Linked DNA regions of Homo sapiens: region 1 is linked to region 2. Evidence: promoter capture Hi-C in 16 types of primary human blood cells and fetal thymus (Javierre and others, 2016). All regions are on one chromosome and are shown on one strand. Each heading gives the region's core, a stretch centred on a gene start or on the middle of the fragment in contact. The rest is flanking DNA. Distances are from core to core; before and after follow the strand shown. Region 1 overlaps TTI1 (TELO2 interacting protein 1). Region 2 holds the start of MANBAL (mannosidase beta like).

The links. The method cuts DNA at HindIII sites, captures the fragments that hold promoters and counts their contacts. A CHiCAGO score of 5 or more calls a contact.
Region 1: a fragment that was not itself captured here is called in contact with the fragment with the promoter of MANBAL in region 2 in 1 of 17 cell types (total B cells); the score reaches 5.2 in total B cells.

The regions. Positions count from the first base shown.
Region 1 is chr20:38,027,357-38,032,115 of GRCh38, forward strand. The region is part of intron 1 of TTI1 (TELO2 interacting protein 1); the gene reads right to left. Among named protein-coding and RNA genes, the nearest start is that of TTI1, 3.7 kb to the right of the region's middle. The HindIII fragment of the contact is 1,523 bases long and covers 1,774-3,296 here.
Region 2 is chr20:37,287,998-37,292,814 of GRCh38, forward strand. It overlaps MANBAL (mannosidase beta like), which reads left to right and starts at 1,658. Exons shown (of 3, transcript NM_001003897.2): 1 at 1,658-1,689. RefSeq lists enhancers at 1,446-1,555, 1,628-2,532, 3,761-3,870. The HindIII fragment of the contact is 7,246 bases long and covers 170-4,817 here.

The sequences.
Region 1 (4,759 bases), core at 1,285-3,784, 740 kb after region 2:
TTATTTTTGTTGTTGTATTGTTATCTTTTACTTTTTATTTTTTTCAAATACAGTTGACCCTTGAACAATGTGGGGGTTAGGAGTGCCAACCCCCTCGAGCAGTCAAAAAATCTCTATAAATTTTGACTCCCCAAAAACTTAACTATTGACAGCCTACTGTTGACTGGAAACCTTACTGATAACATAAACAGTTGTTTAACATAAATTTTTTATGCTGTATGTATTATATGCTGTGTTCTTACAATAAAACAAGCTACAGAAAAGAAAACGTTATTAAGAAAATCACAGGCTGGGCCCAGTGGCTCACGCCTGCATCCCAGCACTTTGGGAGGCTGAGGTGGGTGGATCACCCGACGTCAGGAGTTCAAGACCAGGCTGGCCAACATGGTGAAACCCCGTCTCTACAAAAATACAAAAATTAGCCAGGCATGATGGCAGGTGCCTGTAATCCCAGCTACTCAGGAGGCTGAGGTGGGAGAATCACTTGAACCCGGGAGGCGGAGGTTGCAGTGAGCCAAGATCGCACCATTGAACTCTAGCCTGGGTGACAGAGCGAGGCTCCATCTCAAAAAAAAAGAAAGAAAGAAAAGAAAATCACAATTACTATTCATTAAGTGGAAGTAGATCATTACACAGGTCTGTCTTCATCTTTGTCTTCACCTTGAGTAGGCTGAGGAGGAGGTGGGTTGGCAGAAGGGAAAGAAAATCTGCATATAAATAGATGGCCGCAGTTCAAATCTGTGTTGTTCAAGGGTCTACTGTATTTTCAATCCACAGTTGACTGAATCTACAGAGACGGAACCCATGAATATAGAGGGTCAACTATAATTGTATTAAGCATAAAAGGTCTAAATACATCAATTAAAAGATTGAGATTGGCGGAGTGGATTTAAAAACATGATCTAACTACACGCTGTCTATAAGAAACTCACTATGCAGAATTATAGAGGCTGATTGAAAATCAAAGGATGGAAAAAGATATTATCATGTAAGCATTAATCAAAGGAAAGTAGAAGTAGCTATATTAGCACCAGATAAAGTAGACTTCAGAGCAAAAGAAAAAAAATTACCAGAGACAGAGTACAATGAATAACAGGTATATCTACTAAGAACATACTGCAATCTTAAAATGTATATGCTGTAAAATGTGTGAAACAAAAATGGATAAAACTAAAAGGAGAAACAAATTCACAATAGATGGTGGTGACTTCAATATTCCTCTCTCAACAATGGATAGGATAACTAGACCAAAAATCCACAAGGATATAGAAAAACCACCACCATCAACCAACAGGACCTATGACATTTATAGAACACTCCATCCTACAATAGCAGACTACACATTCTTTTGTTGTTGTTATTTGTTTTTTTAGACAGGATCTCACTCTATTGCTCAGGCTGCAGTGCAGTGGCTCGATGATGGCTCACTGCAGCCTCAATTTCCTGAGCTCAAGCAATCCTCCCACCTCAGCGTTCTGAGTGGCTGGGACTCCAGGTGCATGCCACTATGCCCAGCTAATTTTTGTATTTTTTAAAGACCGAGTTTCGCCATGTTGCCCAGGCTGTTCTTGAACTCCTAGGCTCAAGTGATCCTCCTGCCTTGACCTCCCAAAGTGTTAAGATTACAGGCATGAGCTACAGTGCCTAGCCCACATTCTTTTCAAGTGCTCATAGAACATAAGACAGATGATTATCCTGCCATAAAACAAACCTCAACAAATTTAAAAGAACTGAAATCATACAGAGTGACATTCCCCAGCCACAATGAAATCAAGCTTGAAATCACTAACACAGAGATAACAGGAAAATCTCCAAATACTTGGAAACTAAACAACATGTTTCTAAATAATCCACGGAACAGAGAGGAAACCTTAAGGGAAATTAGAAAAAAAATAGGGAAATGAATGAAAATGAAAATATGACACACCAAAATCTGTGGATACAGCTATAGCCATGCTGAGATGTAAATTAATAGTACTAAGTCATATATTAGAAAAGGGGAAAAGTCTCAAACGAAAAAGGTAAACTCCTACCACAAGAACCTAGACAAAGTAGAGCAAAATAAAGCAAGCAGAAGAAATAATAAGGAGCAGAAACTGACAAAACTGAAAACAGAAAACACAGAAAGTCAATGAAATAAATAACTGGTTCTTTGAAAAGGTCAATAAAATTGACAAACTTCTAGCAAGATTGACAAGGGAGTGAGTGAGCAAGAGAGAGAGAGAGAGAGAGAGGAGAGAGAAGAGACGAGACACTGATACTGGAAATTTCCAATATCAGTAATGAAACGGGACAGTACTACAGACCCTGCAGACATCAAAGGGTAATATGGGAATGCTATGGTTTGAATATCCGTCCCTTCCAAAACTCATGTTGAAATTTAATTCCCAATGTATTGAGAAGTGGAGTCTTTATAAGCCCTCATAAATGGATTAATGGGTTATCATGGGAACTGGTGGCTTTATAAGAGCAAAACAGACCTCAGCTAGCACACTCAGCCCCCTGGCCCTGTGATATCCTGCACTGCCTTGGGACTCTGCAGAGTCCCCACCAGCAAGAAAGTTTTTTACCTGATGTGGCCCTGTGACCTTGGATTTCTCAGCCTCCATAACTGTAAGAAATACATCCTTTTTCTTTATAAATTACCCAGTTTCAGGTATTCTGTTATAAGCAACAGAAAACAAAGACAGGGAATACCACAAATAGCTTTACCCATATAAATTTGACAACTTTGATGAAGTGGTTAATTCCTCAAAAAACACAACCACAATAGGAAAGAGATTATTTTAACAGCTTTATAACTTTTAAATAAACTGAATTTGTCACTTAAAAACTCCAGAAAAAAAAGGAAGAAGGGAAGGAAGGGAGGGAGGGAGGAGGGAGGAAGGAGGAAGGAGGGAGGGAGGGAAGCAGGGAGTGGAGGGAATCTCCAAACCAAGATGGTTTCATTGGAGAATTCCGCCAAACATTTAATGAAGAATTAACACCAATTCTGCACATACTCTTCTAGAAAAAGAAGAAACACTTTCCAATCCATTTTATAAAGCCAGTATTATCCTGATACCAAACCAAAGGCAATACAAAAATTAAAAAAATCTATAGACCAATTTCTCTCATGAGTATAGATGCAAAAATCCTAAAGAAAATATTAGGAAATTCAGCAGTATGTAAAACACACACACACACACACACACACACACACACACCATGATAAAGTGGGGTATATTTCAGAGATGCAAGACTGGCTCAATATTTGAAAATCAATTAGAGTTGTTAATACTAACAAGCTATTAACAAGCTTAAGAAGAAAAATCACATAATCATATCATCCTCACCTTTCAGACCTCTATATGTTGAAGAATCCTAGGACTCAGTCTCTTTTTACACCTTATTCCGTTATGACTCTCACATTTTTATCTCTAACCCAGATAGCTCTTCCTTGAATTCCAGACCCATAAACCCAACTGCCCCTTAGACATCTATACTCAGATAGGCATTTCCAAATGGACATGTCCAAATACAAATGCTTGCTCTTACTCTCCAAACCCACTCTTTTCTGTAATTCAGTAAATGGAAGCGCTATTCTTATAGTTGCTTAGGCCAAAACCCTTGGAGCTATCTCAACTCTCATATGTCTTTCACACCCCATATCCAATCTATCAGCGGATCCTGTTACCTCTTCCTCTAAAATATCCCCAGAACTGTCCCTTTCTTACCACTTCCACAGATACCACCCTGGTTTGAGTTATCCTTTCACCTGGGTTACTACAACAGCTGCCAAACTGGTCCTTCCTGCTTCTACCTTTGCACTCTTACTGTCTTATTTTCTACCTAACAGCCACAATGCTCCTTCTTTGTGCAAAACTGCCCAGTGGACTTCATTTCATTCAGAGTAACATCTAAAGTCTATACTATTGCCTACAAGTCACCATGTGATGCAGTCCCTTCGTACTTTTCTGAACTAATTTCCAGCCACCCTTCTAGTTCATATCACTCCAGCTTTATTGTCCTCTCTGCTGTTGCTCCAAAATGCCAACAATGGTATAAACTTGGTTTTCCCTCTTCCTGGAACAATGGCATATGGCTTGTCTCTCAAATGACATCTTATCAATGAGGCCTTCTCTGAGAAGCATAAGTAAAAGACTACCCACCTACACATATACATTCCTTATCCTCCTTATCTCCTTGATTTTTATTGAAGTTACTTACCACTTTCTGACTTATTCTAAACTTGCATGTTTGTTTTTCTATCTTTCTCAGTAGAAAGTAAGTTCCTGAGAACGTGGATTTTGTCTGTTAGCTTAGAAGAGTGCTTTGGACATAGGTGCTGAAAAATTATTTTCCGAATGAATGAATAAACTATTGGTTCAGGAGGCAAGAATTTGGGATCAGACATAAGATAACCCTAATTTGACTCCTGGCTCTGCTATTTCCTAACTATGTCCAAGTACATAGGGTACTTAACCATGCTTTACATTTTCTCGTCTATCAAATAGTGATTGTAATAATTTCAACTCCTAAGACTGATGTAAGAATTAAATTTAAAAAGTATGTAATGTGCTTAATAGACAGTGACTTGGTATAAAAGTGCTCAGTATATGACAGTGTTATTAATATGGAAAGATGATCTAGATTTCGACACAAAAGCCCTCAGTTATGACTAGATACTCACTGTATGATTTTAGGTTACTCACCTCTTTTACACTAACTCACTTGATAAATCAGGAACTGGGGCCAAAAAGATGGCTAAGTTGCAGCC
Region 2 (4,817 bases), core at 408-2,907:
TCTAGGCTGCATAACCAATTATCCTAAAACTTAGGAGCTTAAAACAATAACATTTAGTATTTCACAATTTCTGTGAGGCAGGCATTCAAGTGGCATTGCAAGGTATTTCTGGCTCAAGGTTGCTCTTGAGTTTACACTGAAGATTTTGGCCAGGCCACAGTCATTTGAAAGCTTGACTAGGACTGCTGGAGCCACTTGGCTCATACACATGGCTGGCAAGTTGGAGCTGGTTGTTGGCAGGCAGCTCAGTTACTCCCCATGCGAGCCTCTCCATAGGACTGCTTGAGTGTCTTCACAACATGGATTCCCCATGAGCAATCAAGACAGAGGAAAGAGGAAGTTGCAATGTCTTTTATGACTTTATCTTGGAACTCGTGCTCCAAGATTTCCGCAATATCCTATGGGTTATACAGGTCAGTCTTATTCTTGGTGGGAGGTGACTACAGAGGGGTATGGATATCAGGAGCCAAGAATCGTCAGGGTTTATGGTGGAGGCTGGTTATCACACTCTCATCTAGGTTTCTTTTTCTCCTACTACTTGCCCCCCACCCCTTCTTAATCATGGAACACTGTTCTTTGCCTTCAAAAAACTTATCCTGTTATATGATTACACATTCATTTAATTAGTCTGTCTCCCTCCAACGGACTGTAAGCACCACAAGGGCAGAGACTGTATGTGTCTGCTTTAGCACTGTGTCCTCAGTTACAAGGACAAAGCATAGAGTACGCGCTCAGTGAATGCTTTTTGAATGAATTATAATGATTTGCTTCTGTCTGAATTACAAGAGGTGTTTCTGTTTGTCTCCTCTCTGCATTGTAGGCTCCTAGCTCAGGACCTGGCATAAAATTAAGGAAATGAACGTGAGAAACACTTTTGAAATAGTGACAACACATCCAGATGAACATTTTGCAGGACAGCTACACACCCGTTTTAGCTCACCAGCTACCAGTTGTGACTGTGCTCTGCTCTGGGAGATGGCTTAGCTTTGCATAGGACAAAATTCTAATCTAGTTTCGCGCAGTTCTTACGAATTTGTTACAATGAGACGGGCCAAGCTATACAGCCCATTGCGATGAATAAGTAACTTTTTTTTTTTTTTTTTTTTTTTTTTGAGGAAGAGTCTCATTCTGTCGCCCAGGCTGGAGTGCAGTGGCGCGATCTCGGCTCACTGCAACTTCTGCCTCCCGGGATTCAAGAGATTCTCTTGCCTCAGCCTCCCAAGCAGCTGGGATTACAGGCGCCCGCCACCACGCCCGGCTAATTTTTGTATTTTTGGTAGAGACGGGGTTTCACCATGTTGACCAGGCTGGTCTCGAACTCCTGACCTCAAGTGATCCGTCCGCCTCGGCCTCCCAAAGTGCTGGGATTACAGGCGTGAGCCACCGTGCCCAGCCCCGAGAAGTAATTTCTTTTGTTTTCTTTTTAATTAAACAAAAATGTTGCTGAAACGAGCTGAGTGATATAGGAGCTTAAAGAATTGACAAGCTCTAGATTTCATTTCCCCAAACCTCTTTGTCCAGCTCGAACCCACAGAACAGGGACAAAAGTCGACAAAACCCAGCGGTGCCTCACCCAGAAACCTGGCAACGCGGGCGGAACAGAGCCGGTTGGTTGCTCAGTGCGCGTCACTTCCGGGACTCAGGGTCGCAGGGAACTACTTCCGGGGGAGCGGCGCGGCGGCGCGGGAGGTGAGTGCCGCAGCTTTGCGGTGGGGTGGGAACCGAGAGAGAGCCGTCCTCGGTGCGGTGGCCTGGCTTTCCCGGCCGGCCTGTCTCCAGCGGCGCCGCTTGGTGGGCCCGGCTGTCGCTCCGCTCAGGGCCTGAATACGTTCCCTCGGCGGTTGTTCGAAAGTTACTTCCGGAGGGGAATTTGAGCCCCCCGGGAGGCGGAGGGCCTCGCCTGGGGCAGCCCTGCGCTTTCGTGCGGAGGCTGGGCCAGAACCCAGGGCTCCTCATGGCCTGGTCCGGGCCTTTCCTCCCACGGGTGGAGCAGTAGGAGAACCCTGAGCTCCAGAGTGAATCTGGCCAGGGTTCGAATCCGTATGGCTCTCTTACCGTGGGCAAGTCACGGTTCCTCTCTGGCCCTCAGTTTCGTCTTCTAAAATGGACATACACGCTTGTACTGCGGGGTAAACCGAGGTGGTGAATGTAAAGCCCTTAGTAGGTGCACAGTCCATGTTTGTTGTACGAATTCTAAGAGAAGCGAGAAATGAATATGAGAAACATTTTTAAAATGGTGACAACACATTTAGATTAATAATTATATTTTGCAGGGCATCTGCACACCAGTTTCAGCCCACCGGCTACCAGTGTGACTTTGCCCAGAGAGGTGGCTTAGCTTTGCATTCTAATCTAGTTTTGCGTGGTTCTTAGGAATTTGTTTTAATGGGACGGGCCAGGCTGTACAACCCATTGCCATAAAGCGGTAACTTCTTTTTCTTTCCTTTTTTTTTTTTTAAAGCCATTCTATTTATTTATTTAGAGACGGAGTCTCTCTCTCGTCCACGCTGAAGGGCAGTGGCGGGATCTTGGCTCACTGCAACCTCCGCTTCTTGGGTTCAAGCGATTCTCCTGCCTCAGCTTTCCGAATAGCTGGGATTACAGACGTGTGCCACCACGCCCGGCTAATTTTTGTATCTTTAGTAAAGACAGGGTTTCACCATGTTGGCCAGGCTGGTCTCAAACTCCCGACCTCAGGTGATCCACCCGCCTCGGCCTCCCAGAGTGTTGGGATTATAGGCGGGAGCCACCACACCCGGCTTTTTTTTCTTTTTAATTAAAAAAAAGTTGAAATAGAGATGGAGTCTCACTATGTTTTCCTGCCTGGTCTTGAACTCCTGGAGGCAAGATATCCTTCCTCCTGGACCTCCCAAAGTGTTTGGGATTACTGGCAAGAGCCACTGTGCCTGGCCTAAAACAGTAACTTCTGACACTGGTTTCTATTCCCCAGTCTGTTTTCAGCTGAATTTTCACAATAGAATTTAAAGTTACTTCATTAGAAGCCAAGAATGGCCTACCAGCACAGTACACAACATTGGGAGATGAAGGCCTGTGGCAGTCGTGAAATCTGAGTTTTTCAGTCTTAAGAGAAGATTTAGTATTTGCTAAGTCTTGAGAGCTATACTTGTCTCAGTGGTTTTTTATTTATTTGTTTTGAAATGTTGACCCATTCTTTTTTTCCCCAATAACCTTTTTGTTTTAGAATAATTTTAGATTTACAAAGTTATCGCAAAGATACTTCAGTGAGTGCCCATATAGCCCACGTTTCCCCTATTACTAATATCTGAAATGTCACAATTACTGAACCAATATTGATACATTATTATTAACTCTAATCTGTACTTTATTCACATTTCCTTAGTTTTTCCCTAATGTCCTTTTTCTGTCCTGGTATTATCCAGGGCACCCTATTACATTTAGTCATCATATCTCTTTAGGCTCATCATCTCTGTGATCGTTTCTCAGACTTCCCTTGTTTTAGATGAACTTGAGGGTTTTGAAGATAGTACTGACTGGTCAGATATTTTGCAGAAGGACCTTTAATTAGGATTTGCCTGTTTTTGACATGAGTAAGATCAGGGTAATGGGTTTTTGGGGAGGAGGACCACTGATAGGGTTCGGCTGTGTCCCCACCCAAATCTCATCTTGAATTGTAGCTCCCATAATCCCCCCATGTTGTGGGAGGGTCCTGGTGGGAGACAATTGAATCATGGGGGTGGGTCTTTCCCATGCTATTCTCCTGATAGTGAATAAGTCTCAGGAGATCTGATGGTTTTATAAAGGGCAGTTCCCCTGCACACACTCTCTTGCCTGCTGTCACATAAGACATGCCCTTGCCTCCCCTTTGCCTTTTGCCGTGATTGTGAGGCCTACCCACCCATGTGGAACCGTGAGTCCGTTAAACCTCTTTTTCTTTATTAATTACCCAGTCTCGGGTATTTCTTCAAAGTGGTATGAAAATGGACTAATCCAACCACAGAAGTAAAGTGCTATTCTCATCACATCATATCAAGGGTACATACTATCGATATGAGTTATCATTGTTGACATCTGTTAGCTTGAGCCACCTGGCTTGAGGTAGTAGTCAGGCTTTTCCAGTGTAGAGTTACTTTTCCTCCTGCACTTTCCGCACTGTACTTTTGGAGAAAGTCATTATGTACAGCACACATTTAAGGAGTGTGGAATTATGCCCCATGCTTAAAGGCAGAGTATATAATGCAAATTATTTGGAGTTCTCTGTGGGAAATTTGTCTGTTCCCCTATTTTTTGCTTACAGAGTCATATATTTGTATCGGTGTGAACTCATGGATTTGTTTTGTTTTGAGACAGGGTCTCCCGCTGTCGCCCAGGCTGGAGTGCAGTGGTGCAGTCTTGGCTCACTGCAACCTCCACCTCCCGGGTTTAAGTGATTCTCCTGCCTCAGCCTCCTGAGTAGCTGGGATTACAGGCACCTACCACCATGGCTGGCTAATTTTTGTATTTTTAGTAGAGAGAGTTTCACCATGTTGGCCAGGCTGGTCTTGAACTCTTGACCTCAGGTGATCCACCTGCCTTGGCCTCCTGATTACAGGAATCCCCTCTCCTGGGATTACAGGCGTGAGCCACCATGCCGGGCCTGAACTCATGGATGTTTATTTTATACTTTGGACCAGAATCCAGTACTACTTTATTTTGTTGCTGAAATTGTTCCTCCATTGGCCATTGGGAGCTCTTCCACTTGGCTCCTGTATCCCTTTGACATATCCCCCTCTATATGTTTTGCTTTGTTTTGTTTTGTTGAGCACTTTCTTTCTATTCCAGACTCATCTGGTATGTTT